Linked DNA regions of Homo sapiens: region 1 is linked to region 2. The links are contacts of gene promoters, found by promoter capture Hi-C in human tissues and cell types (Jung and others, 2019). All regions are on one chromosome and are shown on one strand. The core of a region is centred on a gene start or on the middle of the fragment in contact, and the rest is flanking DNA. Distances in the headings are between cores, read along the strand shown. Region 1 overlaps OTUD7B (OTU deubiquitinase 7B). Region 2 holds the start of MRPS21 (mitochondrial ribosomal protein S21).

The links. The method cuts DNA at HindIII sites, captures the fragments that hold promoters and counts their contacts. A contact is called where the count stands out against the background at its distance.
Region 1: a fragment that was not itself captured here is called in contact with the fragment with the promoter of MRPS21 in region 2 in 2 of the 25 tissues and cell types used here (aorta and dorsolateral prefrontal cortex).

What each region holds. Positions count from the first base shown.
Region 1 is chr1:150,001,123-150,008,377 of GRCh38, forward strand. All of the region lies in intron 1 of OTUD7B (OTU deubiquitinase 7B), which reads right to left. Among named protein-coding and RNA genes, the nearest start is that of OTUD7B, 6.0 kb to the right of the region's middle. The HindIII fragment of the contact is 6,747 bases long and covers 1,364-7,255 here.
Region 2 is chr1:150,288,869-150,295,464 of GRCh38, forward strand. MRPS21 (mitochondrial ribosomal protein S21) reads left to right here and starts at 4,993. Exons shown (of 3, transcript NM_031901.6): 1 at 4,993-5,030; 2 at 5,467-5,581. The coding sequence starts at 5,499. It overlaps LOC105371434 (a long non-coding RNA gene), which reads right to left and starts at 4,952. Exons shown (of 2, transcript XR_922129.4): 1 at 4,764-4,952; 2 at 4,432-4,629. RefSeq lists an enhancer at 5,281-5,340. The HindIII fragment of the contact is 19,456 bases long and covers 1-6,596 here.

The DNA of each region.
Region 1 (7,255 bases), core at 3,487-5,986, 290 kb before region 2:
TTCAGCTATATCTATAACATTTAATATTTTAAAGGGAGTAAGACATCTAACAAATATGACAAAATGTTAATGTCCATCAAGTTGGGGTTGTAGACTCAAAATTGCCTGAGTTTTTCCCCTGAACTTTTCTAAATGTTTGAAATATCTCATTATGCAAAATTGTAAAATTAATAAAGGGCCAGGTGATTTGATGAATAGAGGAGTCAACACAAAAACAGTCAGGAGCAGAATGGTTTCCCAAAACTATAAGGAGATATCTGACTTGTTCAGTTTTAGACTGAAGAGGAGCCTTCACATCCCTCAAACAGCAGCGCTTAGAACAGGGTAGAGTGAGGACTGACAAAAATGGACAAGAAGGTTTATTGCCATCTCAAATCAGATAGCAGAGGGGAGTGAAAAACCACCTTCCCACATAATTTAAATGCTAGTGTAACCAAGTTATCTCCCCTAAAACAGCCAAGAAAGCTTCCAGTTACACAGGAATTCAGATAAGTACTCACTGTGAGTAGCTATTCTGTGCCTCCTTTCTACCCACCCCTTCCTTCTCCCAAATACTCACAAACAAAAACAAAATGTACCCTTGCCCACTTGAGAAAGAATTAAGACTTGGCAGCTCTGCTTAAGTGGACAGCTTCCAAACCAAGGCCCTTCTCTGGGGAAGATGCTGACAGAGCCCAGAGAAAAGAATTTAAAAATCACAACTCAGACAAGTTTTGAGGAAGGCCTATCAATGGAAGGTATCCATCCTTCCACACGTCCTTAAGTCCCAATTTCTCCCAGGGGAATCTAAGGACTTAGAGGATGCCCTCTACCCTGTTCTGTTCTCCTCCAGCAAAAGTGACTAAAACACAAAATCCAAACTCTCACTTAGCACTTTAAAACCAAACAATTTCCCTCCACAAAAATCCAATGAAAATGAAAATACAGGGAAGATGCAGAATCTGAGTATTTAATATTTTAAAGAGAGTAAGACATCTAAAACAAATATGACAAAATGTTAATGTCCATCAAATTTGGGATGTAGGCTCAAAATTGTTTCTGTTTGGGTTTTTTCCCTGAACTTTTCTAAATTTTGTTTAGATATTCTTTTTTTTTTAGATAAATATACTTTTAATCAGTGCCCAATTTATCATAGCTTATTTAACAAGTTTCAGTGGCACAAATAAAACTAAGTTTAAAAGAAAACAACTTAAAGGGAGCTTAGTGGCAGAGATAAAGACATGCAACAAAACAAATACCTTGACATTCTTCTACATCTGAATCACTACAGCTGAAAAATCCTAACACCTCATTCAGCCCAGTCCAGGGCACCGAACTGCCCCTCTTCCCAATGGTACTCTCAGGGAACATCTTTCTCAGTCAGACCTAGGAAAATACCTCTATTCACTTTGGACTGGTTAAAAAAAGACGGTAGAATGGAATGATGTTAAGTCCTTCTATCTGCTAGTACAATGCAATGTGGCAGAATGACACAAACACTGAAATGGGACTTGGGAGAGAAGAGAGAGGTGAATTCACCTTTATTAATCACCTAGTACATGCTGAAGACTGAATTCTAGACTAAGCTATCACAGAACCACTTCTGTGATCCTGAGTAAACCTCAGGTATTCTATTTGAAAATGAATGAGGAAAACTAAGAAAGCATCGCAGCCCCGCCAGTTGTCTGATTCCATGAATCTGTAAATATGATCACTCTCAATAAATGTGTTCAGTATAATGAAGTTATTGAAAGGAATTCTGCTTTCTCCATCTCCAATCCACCCTACACACCACTGACATAATCTTTCTAGGATGTGAAACGTATTAAATGGCTCCTGATATACTGCAGTATAAGATAAAGCTCCAGGCCGGGCGTGGTGGCTCTCGCCTGTAATCCCAGCACTTTGGGAGGCCGAGGCGGGCGGATCGCGAGGTCAGGAGATCAAGACCATCCTGGCTAACATGGTGAAACCCCGCCTCCACTAAAAATACAAAAAATTAGCCGGGCATGGTGGCGGGCGCCTGTAGTCCCAGCAACTCGGGAGGCTGAGGCAGGAGAATGGCGTGAACCCGGGAGGCGGAGCTTGCAGTGAGCTGAGATTGTGCCACTGCACTCCAGCCTGGGTGACAGAGCAAGACTCTGTCTCAAAAAAAAAAAAAAAAAGATAAAAACTCTGTATGATCCAGCGTTGCCTACCTCTTCAGCCTGCCCTCCATCCCATCCTCCAGCCATAATGATTAAGTAAAAGTTACCTGAAGAAGTCTGGCCTTCATTCCTTTAAGCTTTTGTTCATGGTATTTTCTCAGACTGGAATGTAATTCTTGTCATCTGTAGAGTATATCCTTAATTCATCTTTCAAGACTCAGCTCAAATGCTAACTCCTCAGGGAGGCTCTTTCCAACCTCAGCATGCCCAAGGCAGAACTGACCCTTGGGCTCCCACTCTCCCTGCTGCATACTTCTATCACAGCATCTATCACACTTCATTCTATCTATATATTTACATATCTGTCTCCTCCCACTAGACCCATACGCTCCTCGTGGGTTCCTTGTCTCCCTTACCTCCATCTCAGTGCCTAGGATGGTGTTTACAAGATAGGAGACATGTTTAGGTTTAGACGTGTTTAGGTTTATCAGTACCATTTTCTTTGCCCTTCTGCTCTTTCCCTAAACTTTAGTCCTCAGAGAGCTTATTAATTCTCTTGGCTACAGCTACCACATCTAGGCCATGAATTGCAAAACTGCATTTCCAAACCTACCCCCATCTTTACTCCAGCTCACACCCAGGACAGCCTTCATTTGGACATTTCATTGCCACTTTAAATCCAACACATCGCAAATTATACTCATCATATTTCCCCAAAATGAGGAAAGCTTCCTAACTTCTTTATTTCACTCAATGTCTCAGACACCCAGGCACAACGTGTCACAGTTGTAGTTGACTCATCACCCTTCTTCATCTCCCACATCCACCCCTCATTAATTTCCATTTTTCCTTCACAGTCTCTTTTTCACTCTTTCCTCTCCTTAGCCTACCCTCCACAACTCTAACTCGGGCCTCATCACTTCACACACCCCCAGTGTCAATCTCCATTCCCTCCCAGCCAACCTGTGTATTAGTATCATCATACTGCTATTCTATTCAAAAATCTTCTACCATTTAAAATATAAAGTTGACCGGGCACGGTGGCTCATGCCTGTCATCCCAGCACTTTGGGAAGCTAAGGTGGGCGGATCACTTGAGGTCAGGAGTTTGAGACCAGCCTGGCCAACATGGTGAAATCCTGTCTCTACTAAAAATACAAAAATTAGCTGGGCATGCTGGTGCACGCCTGTAATCCCAGCTACTCAGGAGGCTGAGGCACGAGAATCACTTGAACCCAGGAGGCGGAGGTTGCAGTCAGCCAAGATTGTGTCACTGCACTCCAGCCTGAGCTGGACAACAGAGCAAGACCCTGTCTCAAAAAAATAAATAAATAAATACATAAATAAATAAATAAATAAATTTTATATATATATATAAACTTATAAGCCTAGCTTTTTAACACCCTCTATAAACATAGCTCCAAACCAACCTACCCACCTTCATTTCACTACTGCTCACTGCCACTCAGGTTAGTCTCCTCACCGCCCCAAGAACATCTCAGGTATAGTCCTGTTTCCAGGCTTTCGCTTGATCCCTTTCAGCTCCAATATGAAATGTTTTGTTATCCTCTTCATCTTCATCCCTTGTACCTAATACAATAACACTTATTCATTTATTTTTTTATTTATTTTGGAGACAGAGTCTTGCTCTGTCACCCAGGCTGGAGTGCAGTGGTGCTATCTCGGCTGTTTGCAACCTCCATCTCCTGGGTTCAAGTGATTCTCCTGCCTCAGCCTCCTGAGTAGCTGGGATTACAGGCGTGAGCCACTGTGCCTGGCCTATTTTTTTATTAAGATCTGAAATGAGTTATAATTCCTCTGTGACATAACTACCTGAGTACTCCTCTCCCCAAATACCTACGGTATGAGGTCTGCACTATGCAACTAACAATATAGTTTCACATTTTAAAATTTTGTGTGGCATATTAAGAGGCTCAGCAAGTATTCATTCCTTTTTATTCTTCTTACTCCCAACTGGACTGTAAACTCTTCAAGGACACAAAGTTGTCATTTTTCCTAATCCTCCATAGCACCTAGCAAAGAATTAAACTCATAGTGGGTCACTACAAATAACAGTTTAGTAATTTTCTTATCTACAGCTATTTCTTAGAGGAAATAAAGGGCTAAGGTATAATCCTAAAAAAAGCACAGTTGAAAATAATCCCTATCTAGTTGTATAAAATAAGATTCCTGACTTTTCCACCTGATTTCTAGCTCAGAAATACTACAATCTCCTGACTCAAGAAGTAAATAATAATCCTGTGCTCGTGACATCAGTTTGGTAATGATTATAAAGAGGTGGGGGAGAGTGGCAGGGATGGAGAAAAGCAAGTCAACTGGAGAAGAAAAAAAAGGGATGAAAGAATGGCATGTGATTTTGTTTACTTCTTAAATGTGGACACTTCTGCCCATTCCTTTTTTTTTTAATTGGACATACTTTCAAACAACTTTCCTACAGGAGGAAAAGTCTGACAGATTTTCAATGAAGCTGATATCTGGAAGAGCCTCTACAAAGCACAAGTCCTTTGAGAAAGCCGGCTTAATCTTCAACAACACAACATAATGTAGTGGCATTCGTCCAGATACTGTGAATGAAGGCTCATTCTGGCTGGAACACAAGCATCACCTGCCAGTCATTCTCAGACATAAGACAGACAGCCTAGGAGGCCACATTGGATCCATACAGATTTTGAAAAGAAATTGGTCTATCAACATATTCAGTGTAGTCTAGTCTTAATTATCTACAAATGGATTATTCATTTTACGGATTTCTAAGGCCAAATCTTTAATGCAAGAATGACTGTTCTTCATCATCAGTGTACTCTCCCCACCATCAGGTAATATAAGCTTAGAAATGCAAATTTATTTCAATATTAGTATGATCCCCAAAAATGAAAATAAATCTAGTTTAAAAAATAATGTATTTTCGGCCCGGCACACTGGCTCACGCCTGTAATCCCAGCACTTTGGGAGGCCGAGTCAGGCGGATCACGAGGTCAGGAGATCAAGACCATCCTGGCTAACACGGTGAAACCCCGTCTCTACTAAAAATACAAAAAATTAACCGGGCGTGGTGGTGGGCGCCTGTAGTCCCAGCTACTCGGGAGGCTGAGGCAGGACAATGGCATGAACCTGGGAGGCAGAGCTTGCAGTAAGCTGAGATTGCGCCACTGTACTTCAGTCTGGGAGCAAAGTTGTCATTTTTCCTAAACCTCCATAGCACCTAGCAAAGAATTAAACTCATAGTGGGTCACTACAAATAACAGTTTAGTAATTTTTCTTATCTAAAACTATTTCTTAGAGGAAATAAAGGGATAAGGTATAATCCTAAAAAAAACACAGTTGAAAATAACCAGGAAATGTCTTTGTTAAGTTCTGAATTACCTACAACAGTGCTCCCTACATTAGCAGAGACAACTGAGAGTTAAATGCACTTGAAACATAATGCTGTCCTTACTATAAGCTCTTGAGGAGAATCCGGCCATAGTCTTGAGACTTCCCCACAGGTTGGTGCACTACGAGACAGGAACAAGCAGGCTCAGCATAGTAAGGTGTGTAAACACAAAAACTTCTACAAGGAATCTTATGCCTCCTGGCTGTATCCCTTCAGGTTAGGATGGTACAGAAAATAAGAGTCACAATGTACGGATGCCTGCCTGATTCCTTGTCCCTGAGTTCCTGAACCAAAGGGCTCAATATTTCTCATTAAATCCGTCCTTTGTTCAAGGACCTACAATGATTCTATTGACCCTTCTATCAACACCCAACAGAGTCTGGCTTCTGAGTCCCCTCCACCCTCTTGCCTGCTCTACTCATGACTTGCCCAACCCACATTCTCTACAGTCACTCTCATATATTCCCCCCACTCACAACTTAGTCATTCATATCATCATTGCACACTGTACATTCTATACTTTCTGTTTGGAAGATCCTTTCTTTTCTTTTATTCCCAACACAGTAACTATTTCATTTACTTGAATGCTCACATTTTACAGATAAGGAAAAGAAGTTAACTTGTCCAAGGTCACATGGTAAAAAATAGCCGCAAGGTCTGAACGAAGACCCATCTAACTCAATAGCCCATACCTCTTTATGACTCATCCATAGCCTCCCAAGTCCATTTCAAAATTTACTGACTCAGAAATCTCCCCAATTTATTTCACTGATTCTTACTTTGTTACTTTAAGTCTTCTCAGCCCTTACATACTTATCAGCACGTTAAATTTGCTTTTGTCTATATGTTGTTTCCTAAATGTTAAAGCTCATAATAGTCTGCCTTCCCATATTTATACACCACCTTTCCCATCCACCCTCAACCCCAAGAGCAAAGACACATGTCTTTACATCTTTTATACCTCCCTAAAGCCTGTCACTGGAGCATGGAGACTGCTTTATCCAGAGAAGTGTTCAATCATTACTCAGCAAGGATGTCTTATTTAAAAACAAACAAACAACTCTCTTCTATTATATTAAAAAGTCAACTGAATTCAGGCATTCATGAGAAAAACTGCCCTGTATCTATCTTCCAGTTACACAAATTTTTAATTACCTGAATTTATCAGAGGCTACAAAAAAGATTCCACAGTCTGCTATTCCACAGCTCCTAAGTTCCCATAGGAAAGATACTGCTGAGGTCACATTTCAAAGCGCTGTTTAAGGATTTTCCCTTTGGTGGGATGAGTGTTTAGGGTAAGGAGAGTGCTACTCATACACACATACACCCACACTATAATGGCCAGTGTCTTTTAGCATGCTTAAGATACTCAGGAGCTCCAAAACTTTGACAAGTGGCACTTAGTGCCCTCATAACAATCAGAATACTTATTTTGGTTACATACATTGAATCTCAAAATTGCAAATAAAGCCTCCTGAGAACTAGGAATAGTGGTGGACTACCAGGCAGCTCTCCACTCATTCCTAGGCTTCTTCAACCCCTTTGATCCCCATGCCCTGGAATAAAGTATGCAGTTCAACTTAGGGAGTTGCTAGATGCAGATATAAATAGAATTTACCCAGATATCATCACTAATATTGGCACCAATCAACTCACACAGATCAAAACAATTATTGATCATCAACAGATTCTGGGAAAGGTGTATGTGGTTTTTAAAAATTAGATTTTCGTCTCCA
Region 2 (6,596 bases), core at 3,743-6,242:
GAGGTCACTAATGAGCCCACAGAACCAGTATTATAATCTAGCTTCCACCTAATCAACAGCTATACCCTTTACAAAGGCTACGTACATTATGCTCTCTGTATCATTTGACACTCGATGCTGCCTACTGAAACTCTCCGCCCTCAGATCCCATGACAGCACACTACCCTAATCCTCCTCTTACCTATCTGGCAGCAATGTCTAGGTCTCTTAAGGGCCCCACTTCAACCTACTCCAAAGTGTGGGTGTTCCCCTAGACTCAGGCCTTGGCCCTTTTCTCTGACTATATCCTTTCATGGCTTTAATTATTGCTTCAACTTAGAAGACTGCTACAGCTTTATCTCTAGTCCCAATCTTTCCCCTGGGATGGCATACTGTTTAAATTTCTGTTGGACAGTTTTATTTACATATTGCTGGTACTTAAACATTATTGAAACTTTCAGTGTTTTAGAGCCAACATAAGCCTCTTGGCCGGGCGCTGTGGCTCACGCCTGTAATCCCACACCAGAGGCAGGCAGATCCCTGGAGGTCAGGAGTTCAAGACCAGCGTGGCCAACATAGGGAAACCCTGTCTCTATTAAAAATACAAAAATTAGCTGGGCGTGGTGGTGCACACCTGTAGTCCCAGCTACTCAGGAGGCTGATGCACCAGAATTGCTTGAACGCGGGAGGCGGAGGTTGCAGTGAGCTGAGATGCGCCACTGCACACCAGCCTGGGTGACAGAGTAAGACTCCCTCTCAAAAAAAAAAAAAATGCCTCTTGTATATCCAGTTCAACCCAACCTCCTCATTTGATACATAAAGAAACTTAGGGCCAGGTGCAGTGGCTCACACCTATAATCCCAGCACTTTGGGAGGCCAAGGCAGGTGGACCACCTGAGGTCGGGAGTTCAAGACCAGCCTGACCAACATGGAGAAACCCCATCTGTACTAAAAATACAAAAAAAAAAAATTAAGCTGGGCATGGTGGTGCATGCCTTTAATCCCAGCTACTCTGGAGGCTGAGGCAGGAGAATCCCTTGAACCTGGGAGGCGGAGGTTGCGGTGATCCAAGATTAAGCCATTGCACTCTGGCCTGGGCAACAAGAGTGAAACTCCGTCTCAAAAAAAAAAAAAAGAAACGAAACTTAGGAGACTTATCTAGGACAACACAATATGTGGACAGAACTCGGTTTCCAGTCTGATGTGTTTTCCAGTAATCACCAATCAAATTATTCTTTCCTGAAAACATGTCCTGCTACCACTTTTTTTCTTTTTTTTTGAGACAGAGTCTCACATGTCACCCAGGCTGGAGTACAATGGTGCGATCCCGGCTCACTGCAACCTCCGCCTCCTAAGTTCAAATGATTCTGCCTCAGCCTCCTGAGTAGCTGGGATTACAGGCACCCACTACCACATCCAGCTATTTTTTGTATTTTTAGTAGAGATGGGCTTTCACCATGTTGGCCAGGCTGATCTTGAACTCCTGACCTCATGATCCACCCACTTCGGCCTCCCAATCCCACGCCTGCTGGGATTACAGGCGTGAGCCACTGTGCCAGCCAGCTACCACTTTTTACAGTCTCCTCTTCTGTTAGTGCTATCTGTGGTATCACTAAGTACCATAGTTTTTTGTTTTGTTTTGTTTTTTCCTGGATAACTAGGCTTAAAATTTGGTGCCATCTGGTCACCAGATCCTTTTTATTCTTTATTTGGAATATCTCTTAAAATCCATTTCTTCCTATCCATTCCATTGCCACCAGTCTGGTCTAGACTTCACTGTACCAGTAGTCTCTCTTCTAATCCCTTTTCGCTGATAACCAAGTTAATTTTCCTAGAACAGTGCTTTGCATATCATATCCTATTCAAATTCTTCAATGGCTCTCGAATGCTTTGAGAAGAAAGTCCAAAATCTTTAGTCACAGTCTCTATTTTTCCCTGTGCTCCCCTGCATGATCTCTCTGTTGCAGGTTTTTGTTTTGTTTTGTTTTGACTCCTGAACACTACACCTTTTTGCCCCTAAGCTCTTGTTCATGCTGTTCACCTTGCCAAACCTTTCCTGCTTCTGTTATCTAAACCCTGCCCTCTTTCAACGACTAACTCAAGTCCATCCTATCATTCTTTCTGTTAAACATGATCTATACACTCAGTGTTTGGCCGTTTACTCCATTAAATGGAATCATGTACATAAAATACCTAGTGCAGGGTTTGGGGCCTGGTGGGGTGGCTCACACTTGTAATCCTAGCACTTTGGGAGACCAGCCTGGACAACATAGTGAAACTATTAAAAATACAAAAAATTAGTCTCTACTAAAAATACAAAAAATTAGCTAGGCGTAGTGGCATGTCCCTGTAATCCCAGCTACTCGGGAGGCTGAGGTGGAAGGATCACCTGAGCTCAGGAGGTCCAGGCTACAGTGAGCTATGATGGTGCCACTGCATTCTAGCCTGGGCAACAAGAGTGAGACTCTGTTTCAGAAAAACAAAAACAAAAATAAAAAACACCCACCTAGTACAGGGTTTAGTATATAGTAGGCTCTCAAAAATGTTACTCTCCAGCTGATCCAATGGTAGTGGTTAACAGAACTTATTAACATCAGTTCCTGTCTCCCTTCCTTTCTTTCAAAGTATCTTCATATTTTTTTTCTCTTTTTTTTTTTTTTTTTTTTGGAGACAGAGTCTCGCTCTGTCACCCAGGCTGGAGTGCAGTGGCACCATCTCAGCTCACTGCAACCTCCACCTCCAGGGTTCAAGTGATTCTCTTGCCTCAGCCTCCCAAGTAGCTGAGACTACAGGCGAGCGCCGCCACGCCCAGCTGATCTTTTGTATTTTTAGTAGAGACGGGGTTTCACTGTGTTAGCCAGGATGGTCTCGATCTCCTGACCTCGTGATCCACCCGCCTCAGCCTCCCAAAGTGCTGGGATTACAGGCGTGAGCCACCGTGCCCGGCATATCTTCATATTTTATTCTATTTGATTCCCATGACAAATTTCGTGAGACTGAACAGGGCAAAATTAGTCCCATTTTAGAGATGAGGAAATAGAGTGAGTCTGGCAAGGGCCAGATAGTAAATATTTTAGGCTTTGTAGGCTTTATGTCTCTATTGCAACTACCCAATTCGGCCATCGTAGCCCAAAGCAGCCATACATAACACACAGTCAAATAAGCATGACTGTAGGTCAACAGCCTTATTTACAAAAACAGGTGGAGCAGGATTTGACCTGTAAACTGTAGTCTCCAGACCCCTGGTTTTAAATGACTTCTTCAAGGTCATAGGCCTGATGAGTATTAGAATTGGGATAGAATCCAGATCTCCCAACTTTGAAGCCAGTGCCTTTCACCACATTATGCTGTGGCATATTTTATTTATTATTTGTTTGTTTATTTATTTTTTGAAATGGAGTTTCACTCTTGTTGCCCAGGCTGGAGTGCAATGGTGCGATCTCGGCTCACTGCCACCTCCGCCTCCCAGGTTCATGTGATTCTCCTGCCTCAGCCTCCCAAGCAGCTGGGATTACAGGCATGTGGCACCACGCCTGGCTAATTTTGTATTTTTAGTAGAGACAGGGTTTCACCATGTTGGCCAGGCTGGTCTCAAACTCCTGACCTCAGGTGATCTACCCGCCTCAGCCTCCCAAAGTGCTGGGATTACAGGCGTGCGCCACCGCGCCTGGCCCTATTTATTTATTTATTCATTTTTAATTTTTTGAGACAGGGTCTCACTCTATTGCCCAGGCCAGGGTGCAGTGGTGTGATCAAAGCTCGCTGCAGCCTTGACCTTCCAGGCTCAGGTGATCCTCCCCCTCAGCCTCCCAAGTAGCTAGGACAACAGGCCATGCCACTACACCCGGCTAATTTCTATATTTTTTGTAAAGACGGAGTTTTGCTTTGTTGCCCAGGCTGGTCTCGAACTTCTGGGCTCAAGTGATCCGCCTGCCTTGGCCTCCCAAAGTGCTGGGATTACAGGTGTGAGCCACCGCGTCCAGCCCATATAATTTATTTTGCATTTATTATATACTACTTTGTTTTAGTATCTTTTATGTGGTCCTAGTGGTCCAGGAGGCACTAGAGTGGTATCAACAGTATCTGACACAGAGTAGTCATTCAGTGAAAGTTTGTTGACAAGCATAATAATGTCCCAATCTAGTTCTATTTCGTTACTTTGGACCTGGCTTACTCTGAGGTGGGCTTAAGTGTTAGTGTAAGTTATTAGCATCAACTGATGATGCACACGTCTGTGTCTGTGTCTGTGTGTGTGTGTGTGTGCGTGAGCGTGCGCGCGCACTCTCTCTCTAAGGGAGGTACGTTTTCCTACAGCCATTAGATGTTAACTTACGTGAATAACCATAAATGGATATGTACAGGTAGCATACAAATAGGAGGACGGGTGTCTCCACAGCGAAGAAGAAATTTAAAAGGAGGTTTTTCAGTAGGTCTCATTAGCACGAAAAGGCATAGAAGCTGACATAATTTTTTATTCTAAACCCTGCAGGTGTTTCCCATATATCTTTATTGATTTCACTTTATGTAGTTAAATTAGTGGGAAGATGATATAGGAAACTCACAGTATGTTTATTTCTTTTCCTTAGCACTTAGGCAGATGACGTGTATGAATCAATCTATTTTTCGTCCGGAGAGCAGATCTCAAAGAGTCTGTCCTTTCCAAAGAGAAAACAGGAAGCATCCTCAGGAAGCGCCTACTTCTCTTGTTTTCCATCGAGAAAGAGAAATGGCTCAAATATTTATCAAGGATTTCACAGGATTAAGGGGTATGAAATTGGGCTGACCTTCTCAGAGGCCGAAGGACTTCGACTCCATGAGAGGGCGAGAAACGTGTTTCGGGGGAATTTAAGTCAATGAGTATTTTGCTTTGTCAGGTGTAGAGTCCAGGCCCGGGGAAGAGAGGCAGTCAACAGAGGCCAGAAAGGACGTTGCTATGGTTTCCACGCACGTTGTCTCCCTCGGCCTGTTTCTTTGCGCGGCGCTGGCGATTCCGTAATTTCCGCTTCCGGTAGTGAGAACCCTTCCGGTGGGCTAGGTACTGAGCGCGCGAGGTGAGGAGTTGTGCAGGGTTTGGGGAAAGGAAGGCTGGCTTGGCGAGAGGGCAGGTTTGCGGGCTTTCGCCCCCTTTTCCAAAGACCAACAAAGAGTCCTTCCCCAACTCCCAACTCAACCCCTTTTGGAACTATGTGTGGTGGTTGGGACCCTGTGGCGCATCCTTGTCGCTCGTGTCCTTCTCATGCCCGGCGACGCGTCTTTGTGGTAACGCCCTGCTGCCATCTCTTTTCTTCTCTATGCGAGGATTTGGACTGGCAGTGAGAATAAGAGACAACGATTCACGTCTACTTTCTAGGATGACTTCCATGTGCTCCATCTCGCGCGTCCCTGAGCATGTTGAATTTCCAAATCCTAAATAAGCCGCGCGGTGTAGTTTGTATTATGTTGCGTTTCTCTTTCTGCTTTCCTCGCCCTTTCTCCATCATCCTTTAGGCTCTACAGAGTGAAGGTTTAAATCCAAGGTCATGGCAAAACATCTGAAGTTCATCGCCAGGACTGTGATGGTACAGGAAGGGAACGTGGAAAGCGCATACAGGACCCTAAACAGGTAACTGTTAAGGGACCAGAATCATGCCTAGACTCTCTGGGAAGTGCGGTGGTTATTCTCTCCCTTCCCCTTTCGTTGATTGTTCTCAAAACAGTGCCAGCCCAGGTGTTCACAGTCTCTTAAAACGTCTCAGCCCCTCAGTTTATTATCTTAAAAATGAAGTTCTGGGCCGGGCGCGGTGGCTCACGCCTGTAATCCCAGCACTTTGGGAGGCCGAGGCGGGTGGATCACATGCGGTCAGGAGTTTCAGACCAGCCTGGCCAACATGGTGAAACCGTGTCTCTACTAAAAATACAAAAATTAGCCGGGCGTGGTGGCAAACGCCTGTAATCTCAGCTACTCGAGAGCTGAGGCAGGAGAATCGCTTGAACCCGGGAGGCAGAGGTTGTAGTGAGCCAAGATCGAGCCACTTGCACTCCAGCCTGGGCAAGAGTGAGACTCTATCTCAAAAAAAAAGAAAAAAAGTTCTTCCTCAAACCTAACTGTATGAATTGTATTCAACAAGTAATCACCCCCCGCACCTCCCCGCTTTTAATTTTAATTTTAATTTTTTTTTTTTTTTTTGAGGCAGAGTCTCGCTCTGTCACCCAGGCTGGAGTGCAGCGGCACGATCTCGGCTCACTGCAAGCTCCGCTTCCTGGGTTCACGCCATTCTCCTGCCTCAGCCTCCTGAGCAGCCAGTACTACAGGCTCCCGCCACCACGCCCGGTTAATTTTTGTATTTATAGTAGAGATGGGGTTTCACCGTGTTGGCCAGGATGGTCTTGATCTCCTGACCTCAAGTGATCTGCCTGCCTCTGCCTCCCAAAGTGCTAGGATTACAGGCGTAAGCCACAGCGCCCGGCCCCGCTTTTTAAAAATTGAGACAGGGTCTTGCTGTGTCACTCAACAATCCTCCTGCCTCAGTCTCCTGACTAGCTGGGTCTAGTGACGCACGCCACCACCGCAGTTAATTTTTGTATTTTCTGTACAGAGGGAGTCTCGCCATGTTGCCCAAGCGTAATGACTCCTTTTA